Linked DNA regions of Homo sapiens: region 1 is linked to region 2. Evidence: promoter capture Hi-C in human tissues and cell types (Jung and others, 2019). All regions are on one chromosome and are shown on one strand. The core of a region is centred on a gene start or on the middle of the fragment in contact, and the rest is flanking DNA. Distances in the headings are between cores, read along the strand shown.

Region 1 (4,501 bases), core at 1,385-3,884, 45 kb before region 2:
ATTTGTTTTTCTTACCCGTGGAGAGGTGTATTCTTGAACCCTTTAAACGGGTCTCTACTTTGGCCTAAGACCATATTAGAAAACTTTTTTGAAGTCACTTATTATATGCCATATAATTAAAAAGTTATATGGTATATTCTCCCATTACATTTTAGCCACAATGCCCGTATATTAAATAAGCAAACAAACTATATGTGGCAATTAAAACTTAAAAAAAAAAGCCTGAATTGGCTCTTAGAAATATTTAATCAAGTAGTATCCACTAGAACTTAACATTTCATCCTGTGGATCATCACACACAAAATACCCAACCCTGCTGTCATTCAGGGTCCTAGCAGGAACAGGTAGCATCAAATAGGATAATTGATGAGAGCTTAAGAAAGGAACTATTTACAAATATGTGGCCAGATTAGGGGAAACCAGTAAGGTTGGGAATGCCGCCCAGGATTCTAACAAGAGTGAGAATCTATTTCTACTCTTGACCTAAAGGGGCAAGGAGGGAAAGCTGCAGCTGTGGCTGTGGGAGAGCCGGCCTGCAAAGCTGTGGCCTTCACAGAGGAAGACAGCCACTGCCGAGGTATGGCTAGGGAAGGAGGGGAGGAGATGATGCCCTGAACCCCATCGTCATTCTCACTGGGCAAGCCCAACCAGGAGCCAAAGCACAGGGCAGCCCATTGGATGCAGTTCATTAGGGGACTGCCTCTGGGTAGAGGGCAGACCTGGAGGGGCAGAGAGAATGCACAGCGCTAGTGACTATCTCCTCAAGAGCAGACTCACAGACTGTGTTTCCTGGCTTTACTTCCATTTCCCAGAAGCGCATACCCAGTGAGAGGAATGATGATACACAGTGGAGCTCCTTATCTGGAGAGTCTGGAGAAATGAATCATACACTTCTAGCTAAAATGATCAGTTTTTCCCTTTCCTGCTTTTCTTTTCTTTTTTCTTTTTTTTTTTTTTTTGAGACGGAGTCTCTCTCTGTCGCCCAGGCTGGAGTGCAGTGGTGCAATCTTGGCTCACTGCAAGCTCCGCCTCCCTGGTTCACACCATTCTCCTCTCTCAGCCTCCCGAGTAGATGGGACTACAGGTGCCCGACACCACACCTGGCTAATTTTTTTGTATTTTTAGTACAGACGGGGTTTCACTGTGTTAGCCAGGATGGTCTCGATCTCCTGACCTCGTGATCCGCCCACCTCGGCCTCCCAAAGTGCTGGGATTACAGGCGTAAGCCACTGTGCCTGGCCCCTTTCCTGCTTTTCAAGATCATTCCTATGCCTGTGTGTTTTAGAAAGCAGAGCAGAAGCTTTTGTGTGACATCAGAACACAACAAACACCTGGATGTTAGAATTTTCTTGCAGAAACACCTTGAAATAATGTTTAACTGAATCACATGAACTAGCAATGGTTTTACTAGCAAAAAATATGGTATTAGATGCATGCAGTGTAAAATCAAAGCCAAGACTATCTATCCTTATAGAATGAGCTGTTTCTAGTTATTTATATTTGTTTGTACTTTGTCTGTTTTATCTGTAAAAGCAGTAAGTGATGCAGCTTTAGGTAAAATACATGAAGAGAAAATAATGAATTTGGAAAATTCTGTCATTCTGTTTTCTCAGCAGGACACAAGCATTCTGCAGCATAATAGTTGGAAAGTCCCCAGAATAGAGAAAAAAAGTCACTTATTGATCTAAACTCTCAATGGGAGAGGGAGGACAAAATAAAATCTCTCGCTATCACACGATTTATTAAAGCGTATGCAATGAAGCTTTAACTAACTGGATCCCTGAAAATGTATTTCAGCCATCAAATATATAAATTTAGGTTGATATCAGGGATTTTCTTTTACAAAGCTATGTCTAAGAAAATTCTTTTGTGGGACTGGAAATTGAGCGCAGCTTCCTAACACCTCACTTCTGCCTTGTATTGATCGTGGGCCTTCCAAGTGATGATCCTGAAACTCTGCATTTCCCAAATCATTTGTAGAATATCATAACACGTTCATCAGACTGCATTTACCAATGTACAGGAGTGGCCTACAATAATGCTTCACTGTCAGATGGTCTGCAGTTCCAGCCACCCATAAAAGACTATGTAATCCAGAGGTAATCCAAGAAGCCTCAGAGTAGAAAAAAATAAAAATATCACATGGGGAAGGGGGTTAGTAACTAAAAGGGGCATATGGAGAACTTCTGGGGTGCTAGCAGGAGGGTTTTGGGGTCTCTGACCACATTCTGTTTCCTGATTAGTATGAAGGCAAAATATTTCAGTTGCAAAAATTTAGCAAGCTGTACAATTATATGTGTAGCTTTCTTTACATGTTATATTTCAATCAAAAGTTAAATGTAGATAAATATAATTGATTGATTGATTGATTTGGGTGTGTGTATATGCACATGGGCAGTAGACACTTCCTGGTATGGTTATTTTTAGAATGGGATATGGCTACTCTCTTATTTAGATACTTTTGATTTAGTTTTCCTCTTGTCATAGGAGATGGCATAGTGAACAGCTTAGAAACAAACACAAAGACATTAAGAAGCTAAATATTAATCAATTTTAGGGCTTAGTAATCCAGGGGCATTTCAATTAGTATCCCTAAACATGCAATTCAATAATTGAGGAGACTCCATATTCCCAAGAGCAATTAATTATGTTACATGCACTATTACTAAGGCTGGGAAACTTTTAGAAACCTTCCACCAAGATTAATAAAAGACTTACTGCTTAAAGGTGGACTTATTGTAAAATGAAGCTATTCCAACAATGTTGAGAAGTGGAGGAATTATTGCACTGCCAGTATAGTTTGGTTAAGCTATATTGAATGAGGAATTCCATTTAAACAAGTCACTATGGCCAGGCATGGTGGCTCATGCCTGTAATCGCAGCACTTTGGGAGACTGAGGTGTGTGGATCACATGAGGTCAGGAGTTTGAGACCAGCCTGGGTAACATGGTGAAACCCCGTCTCTACTAAAAATACAAAAATCAACTGGGTGTGGTGGCACATGCCTGTAATCCCAGCTATTCAGTAGGCTGAGGCAGGAGAATCACTTGAACCTGAGAGGCGGAGGTTGCAGTGAGCCAAGATCATGCCACTGCACTCCAGCCTAGGCAACAGAATAAGACTCCATCTCAAAAAATATTCAAAAACAAAAAAAAGTCACTACACTCCCAAATCATTGTATGCAAAGTTTTATTGTAATGTGAAATCACTTATAAAATAAATTTTGACTGTAAATAGATATTACACATAGATTGCTGCACAAATACAGAAATAGTTGCGTGAGTAGAGCCAGGTAAGCTAAAATAATTAAACGTTAGAGCCAAGGGAACCATTAGAAATTATTTGACTTGATCCCCAGCCTTTACAATGGAGGAAATTTAGGCACAGAGAGGTTAAAATGACTTCCCAAAACACACAGATAATTATGTTATGGCTGATTTGCAACTAGTACTGAAGTATTCCTATTTGTTGATATGTCCCCCTCACTCAGCCAGGTTATTAAGAGGTCTGGAATCAGACCAACTTGGGTTTAAATATCAGCTATCGGACTTTCCAGTTGAATGTTACCCTGGATTTCAATGATAGATCCTTCCCAGCGAGAAAATATTATCTGGGCATTAATTCAGAGGTACAGACACCAAGGGACTTCATGAGAGGTATCCTGAGGGCACATCCCTAAAACAGGACTGACTCAGGAGAAGAACTAGAAGGCTCATTAACCTCTCTATAGGATGGCAACTGAGAGAAGGGAAACCTGCCCAAATTTTGCAGCCATCTTGGCCTCTGGGCCTGACCACCCAGTGGAATTGTGCTTTGCTTCTTTCTGCATGCAAAAGTGCCCTTCATCCCGGGATCTGGAGGGATGATTGAATTGGCATTTGGATGTTATCCCTTCTTCTAGTGACCAGTCTAAACATGCTGATCATGGTTTGTGCTCCCAAGTTTCACTGAGTTCTGGAGTCTTAATGGTGGGCTTTCTCTAATGCTGTTTGCACCAGAGTATAGACACTTGCCATCTAATGGAGAAAGTAATAGAACTCACCTTAAAGAGCTGTCATAGGAATGAAAAACAATGCATAAAAGTGTGTAGTCAGATGCTTGACCCACATTAGGCACTTACCAAATATTGCATGCAACTATTGTTACTCAGATACAACACAACAGTGGGCATTGAGTTGTCCAAGAACCTTGGCCACTGTTTGACTTAGACAAGATTTTCTTTTTAGAGCATATCACTTTAAAATGGTGAAACAGCTGTGGTGAAAACACTAGACAATAGGAAAACATTGATAAAGACATATTACTTAGAAATTCAACCTAGTTGGGACTTTCTGATTTGTTTCATCAAGAGACAAATATATGGCTGAATCTTACTTTTTTCAAGCCTGGTCTTTGGGGTTGGAAGATCAAACTCCTGCTCCATCCCTTAACTAAAGCTGTCAACGAGGAAATTATCAGACCATCCTGAGCTTCTGTTTCCTCCTCTTTAAAGTGAGATTGA
Region 2 (4,515 bases), core at 617-3,116:
GGCAGGCAGATCACCTGAGGTCAGGAGTTCGAGACTAGCCTGGCCAACACAGTGAAACCCTGTCTCTACTAAAAATACAAAAACTAGACAGACAGTAGTGGCACACATCTGTAATCCCAGCTACTCGGGAGGCTGAGGCAGCAGAATTGCTTGAACCCGGGAGGCGGAGGTTGCACTGAGCCAAGATCACACCACTGCACTCCAACCTGGGCCACAGAGTGAGACTCTGTCTCAAAAAAAGAAAAAAAATAGTCGCCAAAGTTATTTTATTTTGATTTATAATTTTTACAGATGCAGGCAACATGCTTCCGGTCAGAGCTAATGAAATGGAGGCCGAATTAGAGCGTTGGCTTTAGGAATGGGAATTCAGTGCCTGTTCTGGTTCTTCTCTCCACAATTATCAGCAAAAGCAAAGGTTTAGAAAAGAGACATTACCTTTAATATACTTAGAAACAATCTCACAGCCATTTCCTAGAATGAAAGAACATTAAAACCTTTCAATTTGATGACCAACTTAACAAGGGGTAAAAGAAATAAATGTTGGAGAACAGGAAACAGGTTCTTCCTTTTTACTCCCATACATGTTAAATACTGTTCATAGAGTCACAAAAATCGTTTACCCCTTACAGAAACCTGGAACCAGAAGGCGCTTCAGAAAGCAAGTGGTACAAAAACTTTCACCGTATAGGCAAGAAAATTGGGACCCACTGGCCGTGACTCGGCCCAGGCTACAGAGTCAAAACCAGAACCTTGACATTCTGAAATCAGGTTCATTGCTGTCATCATTGTTCCATGCTGAGAGTTTTCTTAGGAAAAAGAATAAAGTGGGGGAATCTTTCCAAAATTGTGACTATGGAGCTCGAAAGTACAGATTTAAATCTTGAGTTAACAGACCATACAGGTTTTACTTAAGAGATATTCAAGCAAACTCATTTAAATAACTCCTCCAACCTAACTCCAAAAAGGCTTTCTTGGCAGTCTTGGATCAATGGCAATTAAACTTCCAGCCTAGAGCTGGAAATAACAAACACCAAACGTAAACACCATCTTTCACATTCTCAATGTTCTCCTTGTCTCTCTACCTAGTCTGCTCTTTTCTGAAAACAACTGGGACACATTCACTCCAACTTGACTTGCCATAGGCCTAGTCTATGATAGGGTTCATAATAACATCCTTCAACATAGCGTTGCAAGAGCTGGCGCTGTTTCTTTGGGTATGGCCACAATTGCCTCTGCACCTTGTGTGTATTACACACACTGTATTCCATGCCAACGAAAGGGTAAGATATGGCTGCATTATTTAGGGCTAAGTGCTAAATAAATAATGAACAGCTAACCATTAGCAGATCTAGTAGTCGATTTCTTACCCTACTCTCTTCCTGCAATCAGCTTTCCTAACCATGCCTAGCTCCAATCTTACTGGGTAACACAGACGGTGCCAGCACAGTCAACAGCCATATCTAAGCCTTTCCTCTGGGGTCCATAAAAACAAAACTCCCGAGGAGCTGTGGGGGTGCACCGTGGCCAGGATCGTCGCCGAATACAGCCCGCACACGTCGCAGCTTTAAATAAGTAGGGCCGTGGGGCCCGGCGCTCCCTTCCATCCTTGGACGGAATGTATCTTCTCTTCCTACGCCTTCACCTCCGAGGGGTAAGGTCTCGTGAGATACAATATGCAGAGGCCAGTTTTGGGGCGAGCCGGAGGCCGGGCGCGTCTAACCTGCGGGGAAGGGAAAGCGGAGGGTAAGGCAAGGGCTGCTGTAGGCGCCAGACAACAGGGACTCTCCGAACCGGAAGTGCCCCGCGTCGCCATGGCTACAGGCGCTCCCAGCAGAACCCGTAGCGTTCCGTTCCCATGGCAACGGTATTGTCTCCTTGGCCGGACCTGGGCTGCGGAAGGTAACTGGGGACGTCGCAGGCTGTGCAGCTTTCGCGAGGCACCGCTTTGGCGCCCGGACCGAGGTGCGCCAGGGTCAGGAGGCCGACGCAGCGGGAGGAAGCCGCGCCGTCGGGCTCAGGGAGCTGGGAGGCTGGTTCCGGGGCGTGGTTTCTCCGCCTTGAGCCAGGTGCCCTTTGCGCACTCGCGCGTTCTCTTAGAGCCTCCGCGGCAGAGAGGCTCTCAGAGCTCGACCTGCGGCGTCAGGGCTTACAGACTTGCCGCAGAACCACAGCGGGAAAAGAGGAGCGATTCGTCCTTGAGGGGCTCAGGGCCGTGCGGAACGTCATAGGAACAGAGTCCGGGAGTTTGAGAGATCAGAACTCTTTGCTGTGGGCATAGTGTTTAAAGTGGAGGTTAAAAAGAGAAATTAGTGACTCTCCCTTTCTGATTTTCGGATAATGGATGCTCTGGAGCCTGGGTCAGAAAGCCACTCAGGGCTCGGTGGGAATTAGTGATTCTGGAGGGTGAAAGGAGAGGCGACTTGGTGGATGTTAACATTCAATAAGTAACTGCGTTCGATTTGGGTTTGATTTAAGCGACTGGCATAGCCTTCCTTGAGAGTTGAATTTCACAAATACTGTATTTAGAAATCACATTTTTCGTTTTGTGCTTCCGAGGTTTCTCCTATCATCTAACAGCAACAACTAAAACAGACACATGAATTTCATTTTATTGTTTTATTTTATTTTGAGACGGAGTCTCGCTCTGTCGCCCAGGCTGGAGTGCAGTGGCGCGATCTCCGCCTCCCGGGTTCAAGCGATTCTCCTGCCTCAGCCTCCCGAGTAGCTGGAACTACAGGCGTGCACCACCACAGCCGACTATATTTTGTATTTTTAGTAGAGACGGGGTTTCACCCTGTTGGCCAGGCTGGTCTCGAACTCCTGAACTCGGGTGATCCACCCGCCTCGGCTTCCCACAGTGCTGGGATTACAGGCGTGAGCCTCTGTACCCGCCTCGTGACCCCTGTACTAGAATCTGCTATTAATTAGTGAAATGACCCCGGGGGGGGGGGGGAAAGCAGAATTAACCAATACACTGGCTGTGCTTCGTTTACCACTGAGAGTTGGTTGCTTTGCTTAAATCCAACACGCCGTCAGACCTGCAAAAACAATATCTGAGTTAAGTAGGTGACCATAGTTTTGATGACCCAGGAACTGTAAATGTGCTTGCTTTGAGACATAAAGGCCAGGGATTTTGGAGAAGTAGGGTGGAGTTGAAATTAGGGGAAAGAAATTTAACTTAGACATTTAATTTGGCAAATGTCTGTTTTCCAGCGGTCTCCATATCTAAGTATGCGTAGTCTGTGGATTTAGGATGGGTTATATATTTGAGCAGTTTTAGTTTAATGTTAATAGCAAACCAGAGGGGGAAAATAGAACAGACACCCAGCCTTTTCTCTCAAAGCTGACCTTACCTGATTCTTGGTAGGAAGAAGATGCAAGCCAGCCCCATCCGTATCCCAACTGTTAGCAATGACATCGACTGGGATTTCTGCTTCCATATGTAAGTATCACAGCATTTTGACATCACAGGTACTTACTGGGCTGAAACACTGGGACCTCCTGCTTAAGGCAAACCTGGGTGAGGAGCTTTGCATGAGAAGCGTTCACGACCAGCCTGACCAACATGGTGAAACCCCGTCTCTACTAAAAATACAAAAATTAGCTGCGCGGTAGTGGCACGCGACTGTAATCCCAGCTACTCGGGAGGCTGAGGCAGGAGAATAGCTGAACCCGGAGGCAGAGGTTGTGGTGGGCTGAGATTCCATCACTGCACTCCAGTCTGGGCAATAGAGACCCTGTCTCAAAAAAAAATAAAATAAAATAAAAAAGAAGGTTGTGTTTCTGATGTGCTTTAATAATGATTCTGCTATAATATCTGTTTGTATTTACAACCTATGCATGATAGAAGATTGCTTTTTCCCGACTTAAGGAAATTTTAAAAGTTTTTAAAATAAAAATAGGTTAGTTATAACAAGATTGGCAAAATTGTAGAGAGTTAGCTATAACAAAGTTAATGAGAAAATTTTTATGAAATAGAGTAAATAAAACTTTCGTATCGTCTAATACTTATTGAGCACATACTATGTGCCAGGCTCTGTTCTAAGTACCTTAAACGTCTTAGCTGATTTAATCCCCCCAAGCCCTGTGAAGGAGTTACTGTTATTGGTACATTTTATAGATGAGTATGAATCAAAGAGATGTTAGGGAGTTTGCCCAAAGTTGCAAAGCTAGTAAATGGTATTTAAACTGGGCATTCTGACTCTAGAATCCATTCTTGTTTTGTTTTGTTTCGTTTTTAGAGACAGCCTTGCTCTGTCACCCAGGCTGGAGTGCAGTGGTGCAATCACGGCTCACTGCAGCCTTGGCCTCTTAGGCTCAAGAGATCCTCCCACCTCAGCCTCCTGAGTAGCTGGGACTACAGGCACACACCACCATACCTGCCTAATTTTTACATTTTTGTAGAGATGCGTTCTCATTATGTTACCTAGGCTGGTCTGGAACTCCTGGGCTCAAGTGATCCTCCTGCCTCAGCCTCTCAAAGTGCTGGGATTACAGGCATGAGCCACTGTGCCC

The links. The method cuts DNA at HindIII sites, captures the fragments that hold promoters and counts their contacts. A contact is called where the count stands out against the background at its distance.
Region 1: a contact is called between a fragment that was not itself captured here and the fragment with the promoter of TTC23L in region 2, in 1 of the 25 tissues and cell types used here (small bowel).

What each region holds. Positions count from the first base shown.
Region 1 is chr5:34,791,293-34,795,793 of GRCh38, forward strand. All of the region lies in intron 3 of RAI14 (retinoic acid induced 14), which reads left to right. Among named protein-coding and RNA genes, the nearest start is that of TTC23L, 46 kb to the right of the region's middle. The HindIII fragment of the contact is 7,860 bases long and covers 1-4,501 here.
Region 2 is chr5:34,837,298-34,841,812 of GRCh38, forward strand. TTC23L (tetratricopeptide repeat domain 23 like) reads left to right here and starts at 1,867. Exons shown (of 11, transcript NM_144725.4): 1 at 1,867-1,962; 2 at 3,368-3,442. The coding sequence starts at 3,375. It overlaps TTC23L-AS1 (TTC23L antisense RNA 1), which reads right to left and starts at 2,035. Exons shown (of 2, transcript NR_183259.1): 1 at 1,886-2,035; 2 at 250-1,720. RefSeq lists an enhancer at 2,157-2,266. The HindIII fragment of the contact is 9,286 bases long and covers 1-4,515 here.